Regions from separate parts of the Homo sapiens genome. Here all the other regions are linked to region 2. Evidence: promoter capture Hi-C in 16 types of primary human blood cells and fetal thymus (Javierre and others, 2016). All regions are on one chromosome and are shown on one strand. Each heading gives the region's core, a stretch centred on a gene start or on the middle of the fragment in contact. The rest is flanking DNA. Distances are from core to core; before and after follow the strand shown. Region 1 has its middle 13 kb from the start of LINC02610. Region 2 holds the start of UBE2F-SCLY (UBE2F-SCLY readthrough (NMD candidate)). Region 3 overlaps ILKAP (ILK associated serine/threonine phosphatase). Region 4 overlaps ERFE (erythroferrone). Region 5 overlaps ILKAP (ILK associated serine/threonine phosphatase).

What was found. The method cuts DNA at HindIII sites, captures the fragments that hold promoters and counts their contacts. A CHiCAGO score of 5 or more calls a contact.
Region 1: a fragment that was not itself captured here is called in contact with the fragment with the promoter of UBE2F-SCLY in region 2 in 5 of 17 cell types (total CD4 T cells, total B cells, activated CD4 T cells and 2 more); the score reaches 5.8 in total CD4 T cells.
Region 3: a contact is called between a fragment that was not itself captured here and the fragment with the promoter of UBE2F-SCLY in region 2, in 11 of 17 cell types (activated CD4 T cells, naive CD4 T cells, total CD4 T cells and 8 more). The highest score is 11.6, in activated CD4 T cells.
Region 4: a contact is called between a fragment that was not itself captured here and the fragment with the promoter of UBE2F-SCLY in region 2, in 2 of 17 cell types (activated CD4 T cells and erythroblasts). The highest score is 6.1, in activated CD4 T cells.
Region 5: a contact is called between a fragment that was not itself captured here and the fragment with the promoter of UBE2F-SCLY in region 2, in 1 of 17 cell types (naive CD4 T cells). The highest score is 5.0, in naive CD4 T cells.

Annotation. Positions count from the first base shown.
Region 1 is chr2:238,217,505-238,220,837 of GRCh38, forward strand. No RefSeq gene overlaps it. Among named protein-coding and RNA genes, the nearest start is that of LINC02610, 13 kb to the right of the region's middle. The HindIII fragment of the contact is 7,996 bases long and covers 1-3,333 here.
Region 2 is chr2:237,965,428-237,968,884 of GRCh38, forward strand. UBE2F-SCLY (UBE2F-SCLY readthrough (NMD candidate)) reads left to right here and starts at 1,518. Exons shown (of 19, transcript NR_037904.1): 1 at 1,518-1,705. UBE2F (ubiquitin conjugating enzyme E2 F (putative)) reads left to right here and starts at 1,587. Exons shown (of 10, transcript NM_080678.3): 1 at 1,587-1,705. RefSeq lists a cis regulatory region at 1-114 and a silencer at 1,631-1,810. The HindIII fragment of the contact is 5,181 bases long and covers 1-2,540 here.
Region 3 is chr2:238,196,142-238,199,484 of GRCh38, forward strand. The region is part of intron 1 of ILKAP (ILK associated serine/threonine phosphatase); the gene reads right to left. Among named protein-coding and RNA genes, the nearest start is that of ILKAP, 5.9 kb to the right of the region's middle. The HindIII fragment of the contact is 2,578 bases long and covers 502-3,079 here.
Region 4 is chr2:238,160,810-238,163,945 of GRCh38, forward strand. ERFE (erythroferrone) reads left to right here. Exons shown (of 8, transcript NM_001291832.2): 2 at 785-907; 3 at 1,927-2,029; 4 at 2,928-3,136. Among named protein-coding and RNA genes, the nearest start is that of ERFE, 3.4 kb to the left of the region's middle. RefSeq lists an enhancer at 2,349-2,849. The HindIII fragment of the contact is 268 bases long and covers 1,511-1,778 here.
Region 5 is chr2:238,177,225-238,180,343 of GRCh38, forward strand. All of the region lies in intron 9 of ILKAP (ILK associated serine/threonine phosphatase), which reads right to left. Among named protein-coding and RNA genes, the nearest start is that of ERFE, 20 kb to the left of the region's middle. The HindIII fragment of the contact is 191 bases long and covers 1,421-1,611 here.

The DNA.
Region 1 (3,333 bases), core at 571-3,070, 250 kb after region 2:
CACGAGAAAAAAAAGAAAACAAAAACAAAAACAAAAAAAAAACAAAGCACCCTTGCTTTTTTGAAGCTGCTAAATTTGGAGGTAATTTGTTACACAATAGTAACTGGAAGAGAAATTTGGTACCCAGAGTGGGTACATCAAAGACTCAAAACAGGCTGGGCATGGTGACTCACGCCTGTAATCCCAACACTTTGGGAGGCCAAGGTTAGTGGACTGCTTGAGCCCAGGAGTTTGAGACTTGCCTAGGCAACACAGTGAGACCCCCATCTCTATAAAACTAAAAACATCAGCCAGCATGGTGGTGCATGCTGTGTTCCTAGCTACTGAGGAGGCTGAGATGGGAGGTTTGCTTGAACCCAGGAGGTTGAGACTATAGGTAGCCATGATCACACCACTGCACTCTAGCTTGGGCAGCAGAATGAGATCTTGCCTAAAAAACAAAACAAAACAAAAAAAACCCAACCCAAAACATATGGTATTGTCTTTGGGACTGGGCATCAGGCAAAGGCTGGAATGGCCTTGAGAAGACTGTTAGTGGAACCTCGACGGGCCTCGAGGTTGTTGATGAGTGCTTAAAAAGAGAGACGAAAATGTTATTGAAAGATTGAGGCCGGGCGCGGTGGCTCACACCTGTAATCCCAGCACTTTGGGAGGCTGAGGTGGGTGGATCACAAGGTCAGGAGTTTGAGAGCAGCCTGACCAACATGGTGAAACCCCATCTCTACTAAAAATACAAAAATTAGCCGGGCGTGGTGGTGGGTGCCTGTAATTCCAGCTACTTGGGAGGCTGAGGCAGGAGAATTACTTGAACCTGGGAGGCAGAGGTTGCAGCAAGCTGAGATTGCAATCTTAGCTCATTGCAACCTCCGCCTCCCAGGTTCAAGAGATTCTTCGGCCTCAGCCTCCCAAGTAGCTGGGACTACAGGCACCCACCACCATGGCCAGCTAATTTTTGTATTTTTAGTACAGACAGGGTTTCACCATACTGGCCAGGCTGGTCTTGAACTCCTGACCTCAAGTGATCCACCCGCCTTGGCCTCCCAAAGTGCTGGGATTACAGGCGTGAGCCACCGCACCCAGCCCATTTTCAATTCTTTTGGGTATATACCTAGGAGTGGAATTTCTGGGTCATATGATAATTCTATGTGTAGTGTTTTGAAGAACCACTAAACTGTTTTCCATAGTGACTACACCATTTTTCATTCCCACCAACTGGCTTCTGTATTTTTTTCTTTTACTCTCAGTACACACCAGAGATTTCTGTATTTTTGATACAAAATTTTATGTACACCTACTTGTTAAATATTATAATTCATATTAAGTTAATTAATGTAAATCAATATTATAATTTCCACAATGAAATACTATATTAAAATATATTTTAAATTCATACTAAAAGTTTTTAGATAAATATGGTATTGAGACTGGGCATGGTTACTCACGTCTGTAATCCCAGCACTTGGGAAGCCAAGACAGGCAGATAACTTGAGCTCCCGAGTTATCTGCCCACCAGGCTGGGCAACGTGGAGAAACCCCAGCTCTACCAAAAAAATACAAAAATTAGCCAGACATGGTGGCATGCACCTGTAGTCCCAGCTACTTGGGAGGCTGAGGTGGAAGGATTGCTTGAGCCTGGGAGGTGGAGGTTTCAGTATCTAAAAAGCCAAGTGGCTGAATGCAGTGGCTCATGTCTGTAATGCCAGTACTTTGAGAGGCCAAGGCAGGAGGATTGCTTGAGGCCAAGAGTTGGAGACCAGCCTGGACAAGATTCTCTCAACAAAATAATTTTTTAAAATAAAAATAAATAAGAAATAAAAGCCAAGAGGTACAATGTTCAGGAGAAGAATAAAAATACTTGCAGAAATATATAAAAATTATAGGAAACAACTATAAGTTTGGCTAGAAATACAGTATTTTGGCTACTGAAAATGACTGAGTCCTCTAATGTTGATATTATCAGAACAGAGTTGTTATCAAAGTCAGCTAACTAAAGGATCTGCTTCAAAACATTAAAGAGAAATTTTACAAGTTTCAGTAACTAGCGAACATAAGTTTGAGCAAAAAAGTGAGAAGATGCCAGCCAGGCACAGTGGCTCATGCCTGTAATCCCAGCACTTTGGGAGGCCAAGGCAGGCGGATCACCTGAGGTCAGGAGTTCAAGACCAACCTGGCCAACATGGTGAAACCCCATCTCTACTAAAAACACAAAAATTAGCTGGGTGTGGTGGCACATGCCTGTAATCCCAGCTACTCAGGAGGCTGAGGCAGGAGAACTGCTTGAACCCGGGAGGCGGAGGTTGCAGTGAGCCAAGATTGTGCCACTGCACTCCAGCCTGGGTGACAAGAGTGAGACTCCATCTCAAAAAAAAAAAAAAAAAAGTGAGAAGATGCCATTTCAAATGAATTGCAATAATTATCCACTGTGGCTGCTACTTTGTCATAAAGTAAAAATGATCTGAATAGAGCACATACTTGAATAGATCACAAAGGAAAAGATTTAGATTTTAGGGAATCTACTTCACACAATGGACATTTCTAGAGTTTTCTTGTTTTCTTTTCTTTTTTTGTTTCAGAAATGGGGCAGTGGGGAGGGGGCATCTCACTAAGTTGCCCAGGCTGGTCTTGAACTCCTGGCCTCAAGGGATCCTCTGCATTGCTGAGATTATAGGCATGAGCCACTGCACCTGACAAAACATTTTTCTTCAATATTCTAATGGCAAATGAATTCATTGTGACTGCTCATGTATTCCAAAAAAAATTGTCCTTATTTTTCATGCATACTTTTCTGCAGCAATGCAATAAAATCAAACTTTTGCAACTAAAGAAAAAAAAAAGTTTCCAAAGATTGGAAACAGTTAAACAGAATTTGTGACCGTGAAAATTTTGTTTTATTGTGAGGCTTTCTTTTTTGTCTTCTTCTGAGACAGAGTCTTTCTCTGTCACCCAGGCTGAATGCAGTGATGCAATCAATCATAGCTCACTGCATCTGTGGCCTCAAACTCCTGGGCTCAAGTGATCCTCCTGTTACAGGATCTTTGGGGTGTCACTTTTGACTGGAAACCTCTGTGGCCGGTGGCACCTTTGCCCGAGTTCTCGTTCTGCATCCAGGAAGAATGAGATACGCAGACAAGCAGAGGGTGAGCACGACAAAGAGGAGCTTTATTGACTGTTAGAACAGCCTGAAGGAGCCCCGCAGCGGGTAGCTCCTCTCTGTAAGCAAGTCGTCCTGTTGAGTGTTCATCTCTCAGCAGAAAGGAAGCCCTGGTGACTCCTCTCTGCAGGGGGATTGTCCCAGTGTCTGCCCAGCTCCTAGCAGAGAAGAGGCCCTGGAGT
Region 2 (3,457 bases), core at 268-2,767:
TGTCTTAGCTTAGGAAAACTTGAGAGTTAGCCGGGCAAAAAAGGGAGAGACATGGTCCCAAACACAAGAAATAACACAAGTTGTGTTCTTTCTTTTTTCTTTTTTTTCTGGAAACAGTCTTGCTGTGTCACCCAGACTGGAGTGCAGTGTCAGCTCACTGCAACCTCCGCCTCCTGGGTTCAAGCAATTCTCCTGCCTCAGCGTTCCAAATAGCTGGGATTACAAGGGCGCACCACCACGCCCGGCTTTTTTGTATTTTTAGTAGAGATGGGGTTTTGCCATGTTGGCCAGGCTGGTCTTGAACTCCTGACCTCAGGTGATCTGTCTGCCTCGGCCTCCCAAAGTGCTGGGATTACAGGCCTGAGCCACTGCGCCCGGCTGAGTTGTGTTCTTGACCAGTTTTCCTGACTCCATTCCCACCGACTCACTTAGAGCCAAAGCCTTTATTATTATTATGGGGACAGGGTCTGCCCTGTCACCCAAGCTGGAGTGCAGTGGTGCGATCACGGCTCACTGCAGCCTCAACCTCCTGGGCTCAGGTGATCCTCCCATCCCAGCCTCCTGAGTAGCTGGGACTACAGGCGCGCGCCACCACGCGGCTAATTTTTTTTTTCTTTTTTTGTAGCGATGGGGTCTTGCCACCATCAGGAGGCTGGTCTTAAACTCTTGGGCTCATGGGATCCTCCCACTTTGGCCTCCCAAAGTGCTAGGATTACAGGCGTGAGCCACCGGGCCCGCCAGCCTCCTTTAGGAAGAAAACCTGATAGTCACTCCACTGTTAGAAACCTCTCAGTGGGGTTTTTCGAAATGAAAGTCTAACTCCTTGTCTCTTTCTGACCGTTTCCATGCTGAACCTCATCTTTCTAATGGCCCACTCCTCCAGGGGCCTGCCTGACGCCCAGGACGGCCCCTCGTCAATCACACAGGACGCTAATGGGCGCGGGATGAATCTGGGCGCCCAAAAGAGGACAAGTTGAAATGGATTTTTAAGGTACTTTAAACACATTTAAGAGAGAAAAGAAGGAATAAAAGGGACATGACAAGAACAGTGGGGCCTGTGGGCGCAGCACACGGTTTGGGGTTGGTCGTGGCTTGCGTGTCTGACCGCCCGGTCTCCCTCACCGCCTGCACTGCAGGCTGCGGGGGCCTGTCCAGTCCTTTGCACTCCAGGTGCGGCGCTGGACAGCGGGAGCTCCAGCCACGGAGGCCGCTCCTTCAGGGAAGGATAGCCCGGGCTCCTCCGTGCCCCTAAACCCTGCAGACCACGAAGTGAACCCGTGTTGGAACCAGGTGCAAAACCCCCAGCCCTCCGGCGCTCGGGCTCCAGAGCCAACTCGGAATCCCCGCCCCTAACGCTACTCGCCAATCAGCGGCGGTTGCGAAATCCGTGCCCGCCCCCTGGCCGCGCCCTCTGCCAATGAGCGAGGTCCGAGAGGCCCGTCGCCCAGCCCAGTCCCGATCGGCGCACGCCGCTGTTCGCGTGTCTGGTTCCAAATAAAGTTTTTCGCGACTTTGAATTTTTTTTTTAAAGCGCCCGCTGCTGTCTCGGCTGCCGCGGGCGAGAGCGGCCGAGTCCCCGCCCCGCCACTTCCGGTCCCGCCGCCGGGAGCCGGTGCGGCTGTGAGGGGCCGCGTCTCGCAGCAGCCGCCCGGACCGGGCATGGTGTTGGGCGCCGGGCCCGCCTCGCCTGTCTCGGGGAGCCCAGGTGAGGAGCGACCGTGCGGCTCTGCGGCGGGGCGAGGTGCGGCCGCCGGTGCACGGGCTGGCCTGCGGGCCGGGCGGAGGGCGCGGGCGGTGGCGGGGCCGCCTCGGGCCCGCCGGGTTCCTCACGCCGGGGGCCTGGCGGGCGCGGGCACCCGGACGCGAGGCCGAGCGGCGTGAATGGGAAGGGGCCGCGGGCCGCGGGCCGCGAGCCGGGGGTCGGAGGCGGCGTCGGCGGCCGGGGCGCTGGCCTCGCCCGGCAGTGAGTGACCGCGGCGGCGGCGGCGGGGGACGGCCCGCGCCGAGCACCTGGTGTGAACCAGGCCCTGGGCCGAGCGTGGCACAGACCTGGCCGCGCTCACGCCCCACTCGCGGGATCGGCTGCCTGCCTTGTACGGAGGAAGCGGGGCGTCCAGCGCCTGGCCAAGGTCACCGGCCCGACGTGGCCGCAGAAACCGGGACTGGACTCCCGATCGGGGCAGGAGTCGCGCTAGGCCGTGAGGAGCGGGGGAGGTGAGGGGAGTGACAACTCGCGCCCGGTCCTCGTACCTGCAGCGGGAAGAGTAAGTATGGACGCTTACCTACAACTGGGGGCGGCCAGGCTAGTTTGGAAAATTTTTACCACAGCAAAGGAGACGAGGAAGGAAGGGCATCTTGGAACAATTAGTGCAGCAGAGTCTTGGTTCCAGACCTAGTTCTGCTGGTGTGTCATCTTGGGTGTGGCCTTCCCCTCCCTGGGCTCAGTTTCCTCATCTGTCACAGGAGAGAATTGGGTCCCCCCACTCTGCATTCCCGACCGCCTGGAAGTGGGGGCAGGATGGGTTGGAATAGCCAGAGAAAGCTTCTTGGAGGAGGAGATGTTGGGATGTAGGTAGGAATCTTCCCCTTAAGGAAGGGGTAGGATTCGTTTGTGAAGGGAAGGAGGGCATTCTAGACCTGGGTATCAGACTGAATAGAAGCTTCTGGAAATGAACAGGGTGTTGTGAAGGAACAAAGAGGAAACTGGCCTGCCTGGTGCAGAGGAATCCTGGCTGAGGAGTGAGATGAAGGCAAGGGGGAGCATAGAGGTGGGAGAGAGAGAGAGATTGAGAGACAGAATCACACCAAGCTTAGTGCTGTGGGGCTTGAGGACCCCCCACCTGGACATACCTGCCTTTCAGGTAGTAGGCAGTGCAGGAAGGGGCAGGTTTACTGCTGAACGTAAAAGGGGCTGGGCTCCAAAGATGGTCGGTCAACCAGCGTACTCCTGTGCCGAGCAGGAGGTTCCTGGGCACTGGCATTCTGTAGAAGAGTGGGATGTGGACTTTGTTGTGCCCTGATCGGGGCCCCTTTGGCTGGGGAAGTTGAGTGTCCCCTAGTGACCCGCAGTCCCATCCTTTATGCTTGGATTGAGACGTCTCCATTCGGAAGGAATTGTAAATAAGTAGCCCCCTCACCTTGAGCTGACTGGCCCCTGGTGTCCCTGCACAAGTGACATGGCCTGGTTTTGCCATTGCTTGCAGGGATGCTGAGTAAATATCACTTGATGGCACTAGTAAGTTGCACACCAGATGCTCTTCTCCGGGCTGTCTGAAAGCAGGTCCCACCCAGAGGAGGAACCTAACTGGGCCAATTACAACTTGTGGAATTTAGAAACTGAGAATGCTGTTCAGAACAGCTGATCTGTTACCGAAATGCTGCCTTAGAGCGTAATTTGCAGGAAAGAGGAAGTTTTGTTTTAAACCAGATCTTCAAGAGTTGAAGCATATTGAAGAAG
Region 3 (3,343 bases), core at 541-3,040, 230 kb after region 2:
GGAGTGCAGTAATGTGATCTTCGCTCACTGCCTCCACCTCCCGGGTTCAAGCTATTCTCCTGCCCCAGCCTCCTGAGTAGGTGAGATCACAGGCGCACACCACCATGCCCAAATAATTTTTGTATTTTTAGTAGAGACATGGTCTCACCATATTGACCAGGCTAGTCTTGAACTCCTGACCTCAAGTGTTCTGCCTGCCTCAGCCTCCCAAAGCGCTGGGATTACAGGGGTGAGCCACCATGTCTGGTCTAATTTTTGTATTTTTAGTAGAGACGGGGTTTCACCATGTTGGCCAGGTTGGTCTCAAACTCCTGGCCTCAAGTGGTCCACCCGCCTCAGCCTCCCAAAGTGCTGGGATTACAGGTATGAGCTATTGTGCCAGGCCAAACACCAATTCAACTAAACAAATAAATTTATATCCCCCAAGAGGGTCATCCCTATCATCTTTTTGCCTCCATTTAGAAATGAGCTGGGTATCAACTTTCTTCTTTTAAAAACAAAAGCTTTAATTAAAAATTTATAAACTTAAGGGAATGAAATTTCTCCCGGGGTCTTTGCGTCAGAAGTACCTAAAATACACAAGAAATTCCTGAGTTAACAAAAAATAACTATTTTGCTTTATATCCCTAATACAAATGGGAAAATGTATTCTAATCCTTCAGGATGACCCTAAACAAATTAAGGAATTGCAAATACTTTCACTTTTCTTACAAGTGACATAAAGACTCTATTAGAAGTATACAAGAAGCAGAAGAAAGCCATTAAAAAGTATTTAGTATGGCCAGGTGTGGTGGCTCACACCTATAATCCCAGCACTTTGGGAGGTCAAGGTCAGGACTGAGGTCAGCAGTTCAAGATGAGCCTGACCAACATGGTGAAACCCTGTCTCTCCAGAAATACAAAAATTAGCTAGGCATGGTGGCGGGTGCCTGTAGCCCCAGCTACTTGGGAGGCTGAAGCAGGAAAACTGCTTGAACCTGGGAGGCGGAGGTTGCGGTGAGCTGAGATAGCGCCACTGCACTCCAGCCTGGGGGACAAAACCAGACTCTGTCCCCAGCACCCAAAAAAAGTATTTAGGATAACCATTACTCAATGTATTAATCCACTTACAAGAATTCCTAATATCCCGAAGTAGGTCACTTTTGCCCAAACATTGGGTCTAACAATCACAACGCCCGTTCTCCGGACAGACTCAAAAACCACATGAGATGTTCCAGACAATCACGCTGCATTCAGTGGTGTCACAGAGCCAGATGTCTTAGGACAAGGGAGGGGACATTTACAGGTAACAGCCCAACATGAAGAGCAAACAACCCTTCCGCTTGTACCAGGTCATATTTTAACTTTTGAATTAACTTGCCCATCTAAATCAGGTCTTTCCACTGCCACTGTACAAGGGAGGAAGTCTTCTTTTACCCAGGTAATAAATATATTTTCAGTTCTTGTAAGCATTCCTCACAATGCAACTTACAGCTTAGTATTAATACTAGCCTGGCCGCCTCTCCTCTGGCTACAATTCAGTCAGATGGTGCCCCAAACTGAGCCCCATCCCCAGAGAACTGCCTATCACCTTCTTTCTCACTCTGGAATACTATGAGAGGTATTTCAATTAAACACAATGAGACCATCCTACATTTTGCTGGCCACAACTGGGAATGGCTTCTAAAAATGATAATACTGCCTGCCTGTCAGGCACTATTCTAAGAGCTCCACACATCTTCTCATTTAATTCTTATGAGATAGGTACTATTATTATTTACCGATGAAAAAACTGAGGCACTGAGGTCAATTACCTGTTCAAGATCACAGAGCCAGTAAGGAGTGGAGTGGGGATTCAAAGCCATGCAGTCCGTGCTTTTAGTGAGGTACTATGCTGCCTCCATACATGGGCACCCTTCCAGAAACTTCATAAACATCAACTCATTTTACCCTTACAACAATCCTATGATGATAATCCTGAGATTTTATAAAATCTCTGGAAATAATTTTTGCATCATCAAAAGAATCTAACTTAGAAGTCTGTATGTGGATTCTTTAAAAAAAAATCTATAGGTCATAGATACATAAGGAAACTACTGATTAGTCAAAACCTTAGATTTTTTTTTTTTTAAATTGAGACAAGAGTCTCGCTCTGTGAGCCAGGTTGGAGTGCAGTGGTGTGATCACAGCTCACTGCAGCCCCAACCTTCTGGGCTCAAGCAATCCTCCCTCGTCAGATTCCCGAGTAGCTGAAACTACAGGCATACACCACCATGCCCAGCTAATTTTTTAACTTTTTGTAGAGACGGGGTCTCACTATGTTGCCCAGGTTGGTCACGAACTACTGTACTCAAGCAATCTTCCTGCCTCAGCATCCCAAAGTGCTGGGATTACAGATGTGACCCACTGCTCCAGGCCCTTACATTCTATTTTGAATAAACTGAAATTCAAAGCATTGGGGGCTGCAATCATTGGACAAAGTGTGACCCTGACCTAAAAATCTGGAAGAGGCCCCTCCCCTAATCTTAAAAATATTAGAACCCTAATAAGAATACAAGACTAAAAATGTCCATTAATCATAGTTAATCTCATCTAGAACTTTTTTTTTTCCTCAGTTATCTACATTCTGGAGCTAAGTCTACTGGAAGTTATATACTATGCTGAGAAAAATACCCTTGGGTTGATCATATTCAGGTTAAAGGTTGCTGTATCCAATAAAGTTAAAAAAGGATGTTAAAATATTTTGGCTAAATTGTTTTTTATACCTCAATTTTTTCAACTATAAAATAAATCCAGGTGTTTTCCAAACACCACAGAGGTATTATCAGAAAAAAGGGGGGACAGGTTCCGCCACACCCCCCAACCACAGTATGAGTTTAGTGTATCCTTTCCACTTTCCTTAATGCTCATGCACATGGACTCATGCATTTTAATTTGTAGAAGACAGAGTCATACTCTACACAATACTCCACATATAGTGTTCACATAACCCATCAAGGCATGCTCCAGGCCAACACACCCAAGTCTAATTCATCCTCTCCAACAGCCACACATGGGAAGCATCTCCACTCATTCGACCAGATCCTTACTGATGGGTTCAAGCTTTTCCCAGTTCTTCATATGATAAGTGACGCCACAATCAACAATCTGATACATGTATTCCTGCTTAATCTGCTAGACTGCTCGTCAAAGGATATTAGTTTAAATCTGATAGAAGCCAAAATCTGTTCCCCAAAAAGTTGTAATTTTCACTCCCAAAACACTTTATGAGAAAGTCTACTTCGCTACACATTCACCAATGTTACCAACTGTTGCTAATCTGATGGGTGAAAAGGTAAATAGTTCCTCAGCAACTTTCTGTTGA
Region 4 (3,136 bases), core at 395-2,894, 200 kb after region 2:
TAAGCCCTCTTGGGCCGGTTTCCTTCCCAGCTGGCAGCCTTGCCTGGAGCCCAGATAGCCCAAGGCCTCTCCCAGGAAGGTCCCTCCCAAAACTGTGCTCAGTGTCAGCATCAGTCAGGATGCAGCGCGGACAGGAATGGGAACTTCCGGAAGCATCACTGTCCATGTGTCAGTGTCTCAGAAGTGCTGAGGAAATGAAAGTCTCACACAGAGGCCTCGCGTCATGACAGCTCGCCTGGTCCTCTCCCCCACTGGACTGTAACCCGAGGCAGCTGTGAGAGCTGAATTTGCCTCCTTAGAACTTCTGACACTGGGGGAGGATGGACAGAGGAGGGTTGGCTAGTAGTTGGGCTCCCTGATAATCACAGTTGCTTCTTCCTGAGCACCTATGGGTGCTCCAGTGGTCGGATCCTCCTGGTGACTGGAGGACGGTGTGATCACTGCAGCTCCTCTGGAGGAAGGAGGCCCAGCAGTACGGGGATTCACCCCGATATCCAAGCCCTGCACCCCATTTTCCCTCCAGGCATCTTGGGTCTGCCTCTCCCATGAGTGCCAAGTCCAGGCCGAGGTGTGGCCCGTTCCCTAGGAGTCATCCTCCACGGGCCGGGGGAGAAGCTGTGAGGGGTTGGGGCCCCTTTGGGAGCTGCCTTTGAGGGCACCACAGGTGACAAGGACCAGGGTCCCAGAGTACAGAAGGCCACACAGTCACCTCCTGCAAAGTGTCCCACCTGCTTGGTAGGAGCCCAGTGAGGCCAACCGCCCTGCTGGGCTGGCTGTGTTCCAGGAGCCCACCGCTGAGCGTGCACACAGCGTCGACCCCCGGGACGCCTGGATGCTCTTCGTCAGGCAGAGTGACAAGGGTGTCAATGGCAAGAAGAGGAGCAGGGGCAAGGCCAAGAAGCTGAAGGTGAGGCCGGCATCCCGTCAGTGCCAGGCCGTGGGGGGTTCCGCCTCCTCGCTCCTCATCCACTCCCACTCCTACATCCTGAACATTTCCAATAGCACACCCCTCACGCCTCGGCCTGGGGACAGAGAACAGAGAGAACCCAGGCAGCCCCAGGGGGAGCCCCGAGTTAGGGGCCTGGTCCCAACCATTTCCCCACACCCCTAAAATGCCAGGCTCTCCCTCTTTTCTCCTCCCTCTGCATCCAGGCCAGGGAGGCTGGGCTAGCCCAGGCTGTGGTGAGAACCTTGTCCACACTGGAGGGGCCTGCAGGAGTGCCTGGCTCCCAGGGACTAGGGGCACAGGGTCCCTCTCACCCTCACTCAGCCTTAGGTCTTGGCCTGGGCAGAAACTTGGTGCTTGGTCCTGGTGCTGCCTCCTGCTTGGAGCCCCCAAAATGGAAAATACGGGGTGTGGGCTTCTCTGTCCCCTGGGGGCCAGTATCACCTGCCTGGGATCTGAACACACGATGGAAGGCCAGCTCGGAGTGCATGAGGCAGGTGCACAGGCCGCGCTGTCCTCGTGGCCTGGCCTTCTACCTCTGCCCAGCCTCCTGGCCCTGCCCTAAGCTTCTCCCCACAGGGGGCTCACTGGCTTCTGGTTCGGGTCCCAACCCAGCCTAGTGGGGACCTGCTGATGGTGGACTCGGGCCCAGTGCAGACCCTGAGATGCAAGTCCCCAAAAGCAGCCTAGAGTCTTCTTCCCTCCACGAGGCCTGGCCGCAGGAGCGGGCTTCAGCCCTCTGCCTCCCCACTCAGAGCAGAGTCCTTCCCTGCCAAAGCCCCGCCCCGAGGGCCCCCACCTCCAGCACAGTCCTTGTACTCACTCCAGGAGAAGCTTTCACTGAGGTAGATCCTTGGCTGGAGGTTGGAGCCCACTGGGGAGCTCTGTTGCCTGCCTCTTAGTGGCAAGAGCTTGCACAGGGGATGCTGTGGCTCCCAGCCTGCTCCTCACATGTCCTCACTGCCAAGGTTCCCTTTCAGTTCGGCTTGCCAGGGCCCCCTGGGCCTCCCGGTCCCCAGGGCCCCCCAGGCCCCATCATCCCACCCGAGGCGCTGCTGAAGGAGTTCCAGCTGCTGCTGAAAGGTAGGGGTGTGCACCGGCTGGGACACACACACCCCGCTGTGAGCAGGGCCTGGGAGGGTGTCCCGAGGAGCTGACAGGGCCAACCTCAACACTTCGGCGGGCACCCAAGGAGGCACCTGCTCTGGGCTGGACTCAAGGACAGTAGAGCTGGCCAGGTCCAGTCTCTGCCCCATCTTGGCCCATGTCTGCCAAGGGTCAGGGCTGGGGATGGCTGGGGGTTGGGAACCATGGCCAGGAGAAGGCTTCACAGAGGAAGGTGGACCTGGCCACTCAGTATGGCGGGTGCTCAGGGACCAGCGCCTATGCCCTGCCTGGAAGTCAGGAGAGCCCAGCGAAAGGCAGAGGCTAGTGTATGGGGCAGCACCAGGTGGAGCTCAGCCTGGCACCCACAGTCACCACTGGCCAGGGCTGGGGCAGCCTGCCCTGGAGGAGGCAGGGCTGAGTGGAGCCGCGGAGTCCACACTGAGGCCTCCTGCAGAGCGGCGGCTCACATTAGTCATTAGAATTGAGCCGTTTTTTCCTTTTAGTTCAATGTCCTGTTCGTTTAAATATAGCACCTTCTGCGCTGAAGAACCTCCTTGTACTTCCAGTAAAGCTGCAATCGCTTATTTTACCCCCAGCGTCTTTGGAAAATGTGGGTGGGGTAGAGGTGAGGCTGGAGGCCAAGGGCGCTGGGGCACTTCTGCCCGAGCTTCCCAAATCTTGAGGGAAACGGGAGCCGCTGCAGGGTCAGGACGCAAAGACTCCGAGGCCCTTCAGGCCGAGGGGACGTCGCCCTCGCCCCACCCCTGCGCCCGGCAGGCCCCTGGTCTCGCTAGCACCTGTCGTTCAGGGCTGGACCCACGCGGCGGGCGGGTGAGGGGTCCCTGGCGCGCGGCCACCGCTCGCTCTGTGCCAGGTGCGGTGCGGCAGCGGGAGCGCGCGGAGCCCGAACCCTGTACGTGTGGCCCCGCCGGGCCGGTCGCTGCGAGCCTCGCCCCGGTCTCGGCCACCGCCGGGGAGGACGACGACGACGTGGTGGGGGACGTGCTGGCACTGCTGGCCGCGCCCCTGGCCCCGGGGCCGCGGGCGCCGCGCGTGGAGGCCGCTTTCCTCTGCCGCCTGCGC
Region 5 (3,119 bases), core at 266-2,765, 210 kb after region 2:
GACAGGGATGAAAGCATGACATCTCTAAATGTCTTTTTACTCAATTTAGATTTTGAAGCATGCAACAGGGAGTTTTTCATGTTTTTTATTGTGGTAAAATATACATGACATTTACCATCTTAACCATTTTTAAGTGTACAGTTCAGCAGCATTAAATATATTCACACTGTTGTGTTATCAGCACCACCATCCATCCCCAGGACTTTTTCTACCTTCCCAGACTGAGATTGTTCCCATTAAACACTAACCCCACGATTCATTCCCCAGAATTCATACCCCACACCCCCCAATAACCACCATTCTACTTTCTGTGAACTTGACTGGTACCTCCTATGAGTGAAATTCTAGTGTTTGTCTTTTTGCATCTGGCTTCTTTTACTTAGCATAAAGTCCTCAGGTTCATCCATTTTGTAGCATGGGTCAGAATTTCCTTCCTTTTTGAGGTTAAATAATATTCTGTTATATAGACATCTCACGTTGCTTATCTATTCATCTGTCAATGAACATTTGGGTTGCTTCCCCCTTTTCCCCATGGTGAATAATGCTGCTGTGAACACAGGTATGCAAATATCTGTTCGTGTCCCTGCTTTGAGTTCTTTTGGGTATATACGCAGAGGTGGAACTGCAGATCACATGCTAACTCTGTGTTTAATGTCTGAGGAACTGCCATACTGTTTTCCATAGTGGCTACACCATTTCACATTCCCACCAGCCATGCACAGGGGTTCTCATTTTCTCCCTGTAATTTATAAAGGGAAAAAAGCCCTTTATAAATTGGATAAACTGAAAACAATAAACTGAATAAAAATAAATGGAAAACTAATAATATTAATAACCAAAGTGGCAAAATAACCACAGTAAAAACAGTTATTTCACTTTTGCGCACAGTGCCAACAGTACTGCTTTAGTGAGGTATATCTAAGGACAAGAGAACAGCAAGGAACACAAACTAAAGTTAGGATATTTTTATTTTTTGAGACAGGGTCTCACTCTGTCAACTAGGCTGGAGTGCAGTGGCACAATCATAGCTCACTGTATCCTAGAACTCCTAGACTCAAGTGACCCTTCTGTCTCAGCCACCCGAGTGGCTGGGACCACAGGCGCACACCACCAGAACTGGCTCCATGGTGCCATTTTTATTTTTTGTAGAGATAAGGTCTCACTGCGTTGCCCAGGCTTCTCTCAAACTCCTGACGTGGAGCGATCCTCCTGCCTCAGCTTCCCGATGCACTGGAATTACAGGTGTGAGCCCTCTGCTCCCCTAGTAGTGATAATTTTGATACTATGAAACTGTTTTAACAAATAAATATACTGTTGTTAAGAACCAAGATTTCTAGCATTAAGAGAAACGAGCTACAAATATTAAACCAAAGAAGAGAAAACTCTGTAACGTTAAATATGAGTAAGAAATAGCACTCCAAGCTTGCGATTTAAAATGTGTTGTGTTTCCTAGCTTTGCATGTCTTGAGTGGACATAGAACTAATGACACTCCAACTGAACTGAGCACCCGAGAACATGGATTTGGGCTTTTTAAAAAAATTTATTCCCTACACTGATGTAAATCAATTATTATTATTTTTTTTTAAGCAAAAGTCTTGCTCTGTTACTCAAGCTTGAAAGCAATGGTATGATCTCTGCTCACTACAACCTCTGCCTCCCAGGCTCAAGCAATCCTCCCACCTCAGCCTCCTGAGTAGGACCACAAGTGTGTGCCACCCCACCTGGCTAATTTCTCTTTTTTATTTTTTGGTATTTCTTGTAGAGATGGGGTTTCACCACAGTTGCCAAATTGGTCTTGAACTCCTAGGCTCAAGAGATTCACCCACTTCAGCCTCCCGAAGTGCTGGGATTACAGATGTGAGCCACTGCACCCAGCCTGGATTTTGGCTCTTAAACATTAATACACACATATGAAAAGGACACAGGAACCAGCCAGCAGGAGTTTCCACTGGCCATATCTGAAATCAAGTGAGCAGCAGAAAACCCCATGACTGTGACTACAACACAATGAATAGTCAGTTGGCACACAGTGATTCACAAAGGAAGGATGGAGGGAAAGAAGCAGAGGAGTGAAAGGAAAACACTGATTTCCACAACTATAGGTGACTATCTTCCTTTCAAATGGATAAAGGACAGAATGAAACATTGACCCTGCTTTTTTAGAAGAATCTATGATGTTCTCTTATTGATGATAAGAAGTTTCTTTACAGAATGCCCGCTAATACATGTGAAAAGAATCACAGAATATGGAAATCATCTTTGACATCCCTGATGAAATAATGATTTAGGGATGCTAAGACCATTAGGTGAAAGGCTGACAGGAAACAGAATATTCACAAGGTACCAGTGAACCTCCCCAGATTACCTGCTGATGACGCAAGGCAACAGGAGCATCCGGCTGTCACCACCGGAGCCAAGTGCTGGGATTTGGCAACTTAATTAAGGGTCACATTATGTGCCTACTGAAGTGAAGGACTACTGAGTATACAGCATCCCCCATAAAACATTGCTAAAAACATCTCATCTGAATCTAAAGAAGGTCTTACACCTAACTTCCAGTTTATAGGAAATATACAGAAATAACACCGTAAAAAAATACGCAGGTTCAGAATATTGGTGACTCTGTACAACTGCTGGCCTATAACATGGTTCAAAGCCTGGTAAGAAATGAGTCTCGGCAGGGTGCAGTGGCTCACACCTGTATTCCCTGCACTCTGGGAGGCCAAGGCAGAAGGATCACTTAGCTCAGCCTGGAAAACACAGACAGAGACCCTGTCTCTACCAAAAAATAAAAAAATAGCCAGGCACAGTGGCACATGCCTGTGGTCCCAGCTACTTGGGAGGCTGAGGCTGGAGGATCGCTTCAACCTCAGAGGTCAAGGCTGCGGTGAGCTGTGATCGTGCCACTGCACTCCAGGCAACAGATCAAGATTCTCTCTCTCAAAAAAAAAAAAGAAAGAAAGAAAAAGAAAAAGAAAAAGAAATGCCAAGTCCACGGCAGACATGGATGCTGACTAGACCCTGGTTTGAAACAAAGATACTTTGGGGATAACTCGGGAAATAAAAATATAGACAGGGTATTAGATAACTTAACCTAAGGAAATATTATTGTCTTAGG